3 separate regions of the Homo sapiens genome follow, and regions 1 and 2 are each linked to region 3. Evidence: promoter capture Hi-C in 16 types of primary human blood cells and fetal thymus (Javierre and others, 2016). All regions are on one chromosome and are shown on one strand. Each heading gives the region's core, a stretch centred on a gene start or on the middle of the fragment in contact. The rest is flanking DNA. Distances are from core to core; before and after follow the strand shown.

Region 1 (3,302 bases), core at 486-2,985, 170 kb before region 3:
CGGGGTTTCACTGTGTTAGCGAGGATGGTCTCGATCTCCCGATCTTGTGATCTGCCTGCCTCGGCCTCCCAAAGTGCTGAGATTACAGGCGTGAGCCACTGTGCCTGGCCAGACCTTGATAGTATTAATACATATTAAATTCTACACTTTAATTTATTGTTTTAATTAGAAGAACATCACTTATTGCTTTATGCTATGACACTGGAAAATCGGCCGGGCGCGGTGGCTCATATCTGTAATCCCAGCACTTTGGGAGGCTGAGGCGGGCGGATCACGAGGTCAGGAGATCGAGACCATCCTGGCTAACATGGTGAAACCCCGTCTCTACTAAAAATACAAAAAAAAATTAGCCGGGCATGGTGGCGGGCGCCTGTTTTCCCAACTACTTGGAAGGCTGAGGCAGGAGAATGGCGTGAACCCGGAAGGCGGAGCTTGCAGTGAGCCGAGATAGCGCCACTGCCCTCCAGCCTGGGAGACAGAGTGAGACTCCGTCTCAAAAAAAAAAAAAAAAAAAAAGAAAAAAAATTGGACAATCTTGATGAAGAAGACGGGACACATGTTTCCAGGTTTCCAATTTGGAACTTCAAGGCTGACAAATTCCATACTCATTTCTCATCATCCCTTGAGGCCCCTCCTGAGTGGGTGGCCCTTCTCATAGGGCAGGGGACAACTGTAGATCCCTCTTGCTCCTCAGCAGCCACCTGCCTCACCCCAGCCACCTGTGCACACTTGAAATATATACAGTTTATTGTATATAAGCAACACATAGATAAATCCCTGATTATAGTTGGAAATCTTATTATTCCTCTCTCTGGAATGGATTCAAAGAAGTGGGAAAAATTCAGTAAGGCCAGCATGGTGGCTCACGCCTGTAATCCCAGCACTTTAAGATGCCCAGTCGGGTGGATCACGTGAGGTCAGGAGTTTGAGACCAGCTTGGCCTACATGGTGAAACCTTGTCTCTATAAAACATACAAAAATTAGCTGGGTGTGGTGGCAGATGCCTGTAATCCCAGCTACCTGGGAGGCTGAGGTAAGAACTTGGGAGCCGGAGGTTGCAGTGAGCTGAGATAGTGCCACTGCACTCCAGCCTGGGTGACAGAGTGAGACTCTGTCTCAAAAAAAAAAAAAAAAAGCCTTTGTGTTTTGCTTTTTTACTTCCCTAAGCTTTATTTTATTTATTTTTAATTTTTATTTTTTGAGACGGAGTCTCACTCTGTCGCCCAGGCTGGAGTGCAATGGTGCGATCTTGGCTCACTGCAAGCTCCGCCTCCCGGGTTCACGCCATTCTCCTGCCTCAGCTTCCCGAGTACTGGGACTACAGGCGCCCGCCACCGCGCCCGGCTAATTTTTTGTATTTTTAGTAGAGACGGGGTTTCACCGTGTTAGCCAGGATGGTCTTGATCTCCTGACCTCGTGATCCACCCGCCTCAGCCTCCCAAAGTGCTGGGATTACAGGCGTGAGCCACCGCGCCTGGCCTCTTTCCTAAGCTTTATTATTGTTTCACTTGATTTTCCCAAGAATCCTGTGTAATAGGTGAACTAGTTCATTATTCCCACTTTCCTGCTGGGAAACGTGCAAAGAGCCACGTAATCCATACCACACTTGGCAGAACCTTCCAATCACATTGATTACTTGTGGTGAGGATAATTAGAAGTTAGCATATTTTCCTAAAATTTAATCTATTATTAATAGATTTTTTTTCTCTTCTGCACTTCAACTTGAAGGCAGCAGAGGGCGCCTGATCACACAAAAGATACACTCTAAAAGTCAGCGACAGATTAAAGATAATCCATGAAAGTTTCAACAATGTGAATTTTACTAAAATAGAGCCTTGTACTTAATCTTTTGACTATTTTAGGATCTGATCTCATTTTAGATGTTCTATTCCGTCTTTCTCAGTATGAGAATTTCAGTCTCACGTAAATCACCATGACACCTATAATCCAAGAGCCTTCTAATTTAGCTTCAAGCTTCTTTCAGATAATAAAAGTATTAAACCCCGCATCCACCAGATCCTCCTAAATCTTCAATAGGTCATACGCTCTCCCTGTCTCCGGCCTGAAGTGGGCACCACTGTAATGTACTGCAGCCAGATGTGCTGTGAATGAAGAGCCTTTTGGCTTCAAGTGCATTGCCTCAGGTTTACCCAGGATTTTTAGAAAAATATTAAAGGATTACGTATGTTCTTAAAGTCATAGTACACTAGAGGGGACAGAACTATTTCCCGAGGGCAATAGTGAGGATTTAGCCTTTTGTAGTTCGTCATGGAAGATAAACATGCCTGGATGCCCAGGCTGGGTTTCTGTGAAATTCTCCAGCTCCTTTCTGCTCAGCTCCTAACCGGTTTTTTTTTTCTACCACCACATAGGTTTCCTACAAGCAGTGCTGGAGACCATGGTGGTCTTCAACCAGTGCTATCTTTTCTTCTCATTATTTCCCCAAATTTCATTTTTCTTCTTAAAGAGCTAGGTTTATGGATAAGGCTTGGAGTGGGTTGGAAAATCATTCCTCCTCAGCTGCTCAGTGACTAGTCATTGATTGGATCTAAGGTAACTTTTTTTGTTTTTGAGACAGAGTTTCGCTTTTGCTGCCCAGGCTGGAGTGCAATGGCGTGATCTGGGCTCACCGCAACCTTTCCTCCCGGTTCAAGCAATTCTCCTACCTCAGCCTCCTGAGTAGCTGGGATTAAAGGTGCACACCACCACACCTGGCTAATTTTTTTGTATTTTTGTAGAGACGGGGTTTCACCATGTTGGCCAGGCTGGTTTTGAACTCCTGACCTCGTGATCTGCCCACCTTGGCCTCCCAAAGTGCTGGGATTACAGATGTGAGCCACTACGCCTGGCCGAGTTAACTTCTTCTTTTTTTTTTTTTTTTTGAGACGGAGTCTAGCTCTGTTGCCCAGGCTGGAGTGCAGTGGTTCAGTCTCGGCTCACTGCAACCTCTGTCTCCCAGGCTCAAGCCATTCTCCTGACTCAGCCTCCCGAGTAGCTGGGATTACAGGTGCGCACCACCATGCCTGTCTAATTTTGTATTTTTAGTGGAGATGGGGTTTCACCATGTTGATCAGGCTGGTCTCAAACTCCTGACCTCAGGTGATCTGCCTGCCTCTGCCTCTCAAAGTGCTAGGATTACAGGCGTGAGCCATCACACCTGGCTGGATCTAAGATAACATCTTTTTTTTTTTTTTTTTTTGAGATGGAGTCTTGCTTTGTCGCCCAGGCTGGAGTGCAGTGGTGCAATCTCCGCTCACTGCAACCTCTGCCGCCTAGGTTCAAATGATTCTTTTGCCTCAGCC
Region 2 (3,320 bases), core at 205-2,704, 180 kb after region 3:
GCTGCTGTTTCCATCCTGTAGTCCAAGGTTGAGACTATTCCCAGATAAAATTGGCGTCTCTTAAACAGTTTCTCTGGACCCTCGATCGTGTCTTGGCTCACGTGGCACACGAAGTAACATGGCCGACCAGTTCCGTAAATGTGCTGCTGCCGGGGCCCTGGGGACCAGTGTCCAAGCACCTTTCTGGCTGGTGGGTGGCACTGATCTCATGTCACAGGGCATGACTGCTGTCGTCAACCTTGGTGGCCATGAATACAGCATTGAGAGGAAGGGCTTGAAGAAGCAGTGGCAGTCGGGCAAGAACTCAGTTGAATTAAAGCAGGAAGAATATGAGGCTCTGGCACTTCTGGCTTTTTTCCTCTAATACACATTTCTCTTGATTAAAAGTTAAATTTTTTTCTTTCAATTCGTCAGCAGGAATGCCATTTTAATGTTGATAAGACCACTTGTTTGCCTTTTAGGTACCTGGCCTCATTACCTTCTCACGTGTTGAAAAATGACCATGTCAGGAGGTTTCTCAGCACTTCCTCTCCCCCACAGCAGCTTCAGAGTCCAAGTGAGTTTGTAAAATATGGTTAAATATAAATTAAAAAAAAAAAAAACAGCTGGGCGCAGTGGCTCATGCTTGTAATCCCAGCACTTTGGGAGGCTGAGGCGGGCGGATCACCTGAGGTTGGGAGTTCAAGACCAGCCTGACCAACATGGAAAAACCCTGTCTCTACTAAAAATACAAAATTAGGCTGGGCGCAGTGGCTCACGCCTATAATCCCAATACTTTGGGAGGCTGAGGCGGGTGGATCACGAGGTCAGGAGTTCAAGACCAGCCCGGCCAATATGGTGAAACCCCGTGTCTACTAAAAATACAAAAAAATTAGCCAGGCGTGGTGATGCATGCCTGCAGTCCCCGCTACTTGGGAGGCTGAGGCAGAAGAATCACTTGAACCCGGGAGGCGGTGGTTGCAGTGAGCCGAGATTGCACCACTGCACTCCAGCATGGTTGACAGAGCAAGTCTCCATCTCCAAAATAAAATAAAAATACAAAATTAGCCGGGCGTGGTGGCAGGCTCCTGTAATCCCAGCTACTCAGTAGGCTGAGGCAGGAGAATCACTTGAACCCGGGAGGCGGTGGTTGCAGTGAGCCGAGATTGCCCCACTGCACTCCAGCATGGTTGACAGAGCAAGACTCCATCTCCAAAATAAAATAAAAATATAAAATTAGCCGGGCGTGGTGGCAGTCGCCTGTAGTCCCAGCTACTCGGGAGGCTGAGGCAGGAGAATCACTTGAACCCGGGAGGCAGAGGTTGCAGTGAGCCGAGATCGCACCATTGCTCTCCAGCCTGGGCAACAAGAGCAAAACACCGTCTCAAAAAATAATAAAATAAAACAAATATTTTCATTGTCTGTAAATTTTTATGGTATTTATTTTTAAATTTATAGGTCCTGGCAATCCCTCCCTTTCTAAAGTAGGTACCGTGATGGGCGTGTCTGGAAGGTGAGAAATCTTCTATGTAACCAGCACAGTTCAGATAAGCATTTTACAATGTTTACTTTGAGTTCTGTGTAAAGTTGTTCCAAGAATTAAGTCATGCTCAAGTTGAGTCTTGGATGATATTGAGAAGAATTGAGTAGAGATGATTGAATTTACGATTTCCAAAAAAAGAGTTCTCTAAGCCACTGGAATCAGAATTCCCAGGGACTCCTCCCCAGTGCAAGGTCCTGGGCCCCATCATAGACGTAGAAAGTCAGAATTTCCGAGAATCTGGCTGTGAGAAACCTGCTCCCAGAAGCATAGGGTCGTGCTCCTGAGGAGCGTCCTCTGTCCGCACGGGCCCTGGGTAGCTGCAGTCGTATGCCGGCAACACAGAGGCTCCCATCTTTGCTGACAGTGAGGTGGGCTGTCACAGATCAGTGCACACGCACCCCCATAGGGAGTCTCGTGGAGATGTTGTCTGGGCGCGAGGTTTCGAGGCGTAGACTGGCATCCTCCTGGTGTCGGGGTAGGGTAAGCGCCCAGTCAGCAGGTGTGACTTTGCAGTTAAGGAGCAAGGCCAGAGTGGAGTGCCGGTCACACCTTCCAGCCTTCTGCGTTTTACTTTTCTAGAAAAATTGTATTTGAACATTAAAGATTTAATAGTCTATTTTGATGTATGATTTATCAGTGTCATTCTGTGACTTAGAAGTAACAGAAATACCTATCGGAGTAGCATGTTTTTAAAAAATACAAGTAACAGAAACTTGGCAGCTAAAGCAGAAGTCTGGTGGGGACAGAGACGTACACATACATAATACACATACGTACACACAAGTAGACGCATACTCCGAAGCACGGGCAGAGGCATGTGTGTGTATATGCACAGCCGCCTGTATGCACACGTGTGCACAGACATGCATTACAGAAATCTTAGCTGCAGAAAGGTGGTTGGGGAGGGAGGGCAGTCATAGCACAGCAGTGTTGGCAGTTCAGGGTGGCCTGTGACAACAGGGCCGGCCAAGAGGCAGAGGCTGGCACAGAAAGGCCTGGAAGTGAGGTCTGTGGTGGAGTCTGTGGTTGTGGAAGCCACAGTCTCTCTGTGTCCCTCCTGCCCCTGTCCCACAGGCCTGTGTGTGGAGTGGCTGGTATCCCGTCCTCGCAGAGCGGAGCCCAGCACCACGGGCAGCACCCGGCCGGCTCCGCCGCCCCCTTGCCTCACTGCTCCCATGCGGGCAGCGCGGGCTCAGCCCTGGCCTACCGGACCCAGATGGACACATCACCTGCCATCCTCATGCCTTCCAGTCTGCAGACCCCTCAGACCCAGGAGCAGAATGGGATTCTAGACTGGCTTAGGAAACTGCGTTTGCACAAGTATTACCCCGTCTTTAAGCAGCTCTCCATGGAGAAGGTATGTCGGTTTTCTGGCTGGCCGTACAGAATTGCTAGATTGTTTACTCAAGACCTCCCTGGGGGCATTGAGTTTCCAAACCAACACAAGGTGGATGAAGTACGGAGGCCGAGGCGCAGCGCCTGTTCTTAAGGGAGACGGTGGGCTTTGCGGAGGCCGCCTGCAGCTGCAGCCAGCCACAAACAGGACATGTTGTAAACAAACAGCTTGTCTAGGGGCTTCAAGACCTTCACAAACTAGATGCTCTGCGTGACGGGAGGGACAGTCCGTCCCCAGAGCCCTGCTGTGGACAGAAATCCTGAGCTCTGGCACGGTGCCCCTTTTAGACATTTCTCGGCGTAGCTGGCGCAGACACTGCGGCGGGCCAGATCTAGAGGAATGGGTGCATTTTACATCTTCCAAGCAGTCGTACCTAGAGAATTCTTATGAGGAACATTTTTT
Region 3 (3,601 bases), core at 489-2,988:
TGGCATCTTAGAATGAAGGCACAGATCGATTCCCTCAACTAATGGTGAAAACGATGCAGCCACTGAAAGACGAGATTCCTGGGCTCTCACTGAGCAGATGGGCCTCCCTCCTCCCTCCAGCAGCCTGCTTCGACAGCGCTAGTCCGCGTCCAACCACCTAGAAGTGTACTGCCTGGCTGTTTTGGTTCGGGTTGGCATCCCCCGCCCCTAGCGCTCCCCATCACTCCCTTTCTCTCGGCTTGGGCAGATTCGGGGCTGAGGAAGGCCCTCGGGCGCCGCAGGAACACCAGAAGCGAAGCTGGGGCCTGATCGAAGGGCGGCCTCCAGGGTGGGGGGCAAAGCCAACAAGGGGAGGGGCCCTTCTCCCAGCCCCCTCTGCCCTTGCTGGGTTCCCCAGGGCCGCGGGCCCAGCCTGGCCCTTCCCGCAGGTCTCCGGCCTGCTGTGTCCGACGCACGGAGGCTCTGCTGGGCCCCGCCTGGCTCTGCCCCTGGAAAGCCCCCAACACCCTTCAGCTGGCACAGGGGCACTGTCCCCACCAGGCAGCGGGGCAACCTGTAGCCAGGAGCCGCCGTGGCTTCCAGGGAAGCCCGGGAAAGGCCCCTGGTGCCCACGGCCCAACCGGAGGACGCAGCTCAACTTCCCCAGAGATCCACAGAAGGGGCGCGATCGGAAGCACGTCCCTCCCGCCCCGGCCCGGCCCGGCCCGCGGCACCTACCTCCGTCCGAGTAGGTCTCGGTCCCGTAGCCGTCCTGCAGCCCGTTGCTCCAGGTCCCTTCGTATTTGGCCCCGTTGCCCGCGCACTCCCGCACCCCGTAGCGCCCCTTGAATCCGTGCGTCCACTCGCCCTTGTACACCCACTTCCCCTTGCTCTCCAGGCCGATGCCGTGGCGCTTGCCCTGCGCCCAGGTGCCCTGGTACGTGTTGCCGCTGGGCCAGGTGTAGACGCCCAGCACCTCGAAGCCGTGGCTCCACGAGCCGGTGTATTCGCCTTGGCCCTTGGGGCCGGTGCAGACGCCATGGCCGTGCGCCTTGCCGTCCTCCCAGCCTCCACAGTAGGACCCTCCGTCGTCAAAATTAAACCTGCCCCCACTGGACATGCATGTAACTCGGTTCCAGATCCCGCAAACGGTGAAAACGGACTCAGGCGATCGACACAGCAGAGTCGCGGCCGCCGGCGGCCCTGGGTCGCGAGCGTTTTCCGGAGGAGAGGAGGACGCGGCCCCGGAGCGCGGTCTCGGGCGCGGGCGGCCGCGGCGCCGGCTCCGGAGGAATTTCAGTCAATCGGGGGCGATTATTCCTTTTCGAGCTGCGCCGCGGAGCCTGACCAGCGTCTCGCGCTCCCGCTGGAGACAGGACCGGAGGGGAGGGGGAGGGGAGGAGGGAGGGAGGGGGCAGGAGCGGCGGCGGCGGGGCCCGCGGCTCCACCTCAGCGGCGAGAGGGCCCCTCGCCGGCAGCCCCGCGGGGAGGGCGCCGCGCCGAGGCCGGGCGGGGGGCAGCTCAGGCCCGGGCCGCGGCCCCCCACCTGCGGCTGCCGCGCTGCGGGCGCCCGAGGGCGGCGGCGGGGCCCGCGGGCGGCGGCGGCGGCACGGGCGGCGGCGCTGGCGGCTGCACCATATTGGGGGCCGCGGGCCGGGCGCGGGGCGGCGGCGGCAGCAGCAGCAGCAATGCGGCGGCTCGGGCGGCGGCGGCGGCGGTGGCGGCGGCGGCGTGCGCTCCGGGCCCGGCTCGCGCGCTCGGGCCGCGCGGCGCGCGCCCGCACCCCGCCCGCCCGCGCGCCCCCGCCCGCCCCCCGCCCCCCGCCCCCCGCCCCCGCCCCCGCCCCCGCCCCCGGAGCGCGGCGGTCCCAAGAGGGGCGCGGCCCAGCAGGCTAGGGCGCGGCGCGCGGGCGGGGACCCCGGGCGCCCCGCCCTCCGCGCCCCCAGCCCCGCGCTCCCCGCCCTGGGCTTCCCCGGGGCCCCCGCCGGACTGGAAACCGGGGTCCAGCCGGGGCGCCCCCGCCCCCTCCGGGAGTGGGATTTAAAGGCACAGGAACTGCGTCATGGGAAGGCGCGCAGCACTCAGGGCGCCCTCGGCCCCCTCCCGGGAGCTGGGCGGTGAGGCCTGCAGAGCAGGACCTGCCAGCTGAGCGCCCCTACCCTCGCCCCTGCCCGCCCCCGCGCCTCGCCCCTCCCGCCGGGCTCGGATCTGCCCCGCCTGCCCCTGACTCGACTGAGGCCCTTTGCAAACCACAGGTGGTTTTCTCCGGTGACAAACAATGCTTCCTTCTTCCTTCCGGGCAGCTTGGGTCCAAGAGTGGGGGGAGGGGGGCTTACCCCAGAAAACAGGGATTTGGCGAGTCCCTCTCCCCTATAAATTGAGTGAGAGTCGGGACACACGCGTGTATCTTGGAGCAAAGTCACCCGAATTCCGTGCGCCCTGCGCCCTGGCCAACAGGTAGCGCCCCCCCACTCGGGGAACGGTCGCGCTTTTGGGGAGCAAAGTGGGACCGCCATTCGGGCGTTTCTAGGTCTCTCTCCAGACATACTCTCACCCTCCGCCCCTCTTCCCACGCACAAGAGAGAGTCTGATTCTTGGATCCGAGCATCCTGGGATCCATTTAAAATGCATTTCCTGGACCATAAATCCTCAGGCAGAAGCCGGCGTCCCCAGCCCTCCTGAAATGCGTGCGGGAAATGGCAGCAGACCGGTGCAGTGGGCTGATGGGGGTGTGGAGGCTGCCCAGGGTCCTCGCTCCTGGGAGTGTGGGCCGGTGACCGCAGCGCGGTGAGCCAGAAACTGCAAGCCAGGCCTGGAGCCTGAGATTAGGACAGGAGAAGAGGTGCGATTCGGAGCCTCCAATCAGCCAGGAGCCCTGCTCAGATCTTCCCCTGTCCGAGAGAATCAGGATGGTCCCCACTCTTGGCTCACGGGGCTCTCAGAAAAATCAGCCCCTCCTGGGAGTCCCAGAGTTCAACCTCAGTCTCTTGCCTTGGGCACCAAAGCTCCCTCCCCAGAGTACCAGCAGCCAGGAGGACAGTCACCTCCTCATACACCCACTGTCAATGAGGAACATTTAGGGCGGTCGGCTTTGTTTTGTTTTGTGCAGTTACAGTGATTCATTGAGCTTTCTAGCGCTGTCTCCCTGTGCCCCTCTACAGAAGTTCTCTAAATGTCTGCGGTGGCATCATTGGACCAGCTACGTCTTGGACTTTATTGGAAGCTGCCAAATTGCTTTCCAAACACCTGGAGCAACTGACCTCTCACCCTTCAGTGTGCCTGGGTTTGTGGTTCTCTATTTCCTGGCCAGCACTGGTGTCCTCAAACTTCTGATTTTCTTTCCATTTATTTTACTTTGTTCATCTAAATGGGTATGAAATAATATCTCTGGGCTGTTTCATGTCCATGGAAATTTCTCTGTTGTAAATGTGTGGGCCAAAGGAACTGCACCTTGTCCTCAAGAGATTCGGGTCGAAACCTTGGCTCCGGGGCCCACCAGCAGTATGGCTTTGGGCAGTCACCTAATGTCCCTGAGCTCAGTTTTCTCATCTGTAAAATGGAGATGGCAGAGTTCCCATAGGGTTACCGTGGGAATTCAAAAGCTAGGCGCCCAGCACTCAGT

What was found. Contacts are between HindIII fragments. The CHiCAGO score rates a contact against its expected background, and 5 or more counts as called.
Region 1: a contact is called between a fragment that was not itself captured here and the fragment with the promoter of JPH3 in region 3, in 1 of 17 cell types (endothelial precursors). The highest score is 7.7, in endothelial precursors.
Region 2: a fragment that was not itself captured here is called in contact with the fragment with the promoter of JPH3 in region 3 in 2 of 17 cell types (endothelial precursors and megakaryocytes); the score reaches 7.1 in endothelial precursors.

What each region holds. Positions count from the first base shown.
Region 1 is chr16:87,767,816-87,771,117 of GRCh38, reverse strand. The region is part of intron 1 of LOC105371399 (a long non-coding RNA gene); the gene reads right to left. All of the region lies in intron 3 of LOC102724467 (a long non-coding RNA gene), which reads left to right. Among named protein-coding and RNA genes, the nearest start is that of KLHDC4, 3.5 kb to the right of the region's middle. The HindIII fragment of the contact is 483 bases long and covers 1,494-1,976 here.
Region 2 is chr16:87,417,019-87,420,338 of GRCh38, reverse strand. ZCCHC14 (zinc finger CCHC-type containing 14) reads left to right here. Exons shown (of 13, transcript NM_015144.3): 6 at 462-556; 7 at 1,438-1,492; 8 at 2,597-2,879. Among named protein-coding and RNA genes, the nearest start is that of MAP1LC3B, 26 kb to the right of the region's middle. The HindIII fragment of the contact is 4,091 bases long and covers 1-3,320 here.
Region 3 is chr16:87,600,645-87,604,245 of GRCh38, reverse strand. JPH3 (junctophilin 3) reads right to left here and starts at 1,738. Exons shown (of 5, transcript NM_020655.4): 1 at 718-1,738. The coding sequence starts at 1,099. LOC124903750 (a long non-coding RNA gene) reads left to right here and starts at 2,063. Exons shown (of 2, transcript XR_007065172.1): 1 at 2,063-2,234; 2 at 3,141-3,601. RefSeq lists an enhancer at 2,637-3,199. The HindIII fragment of the contact is 10,792 bases long and covers 1-3,601 here.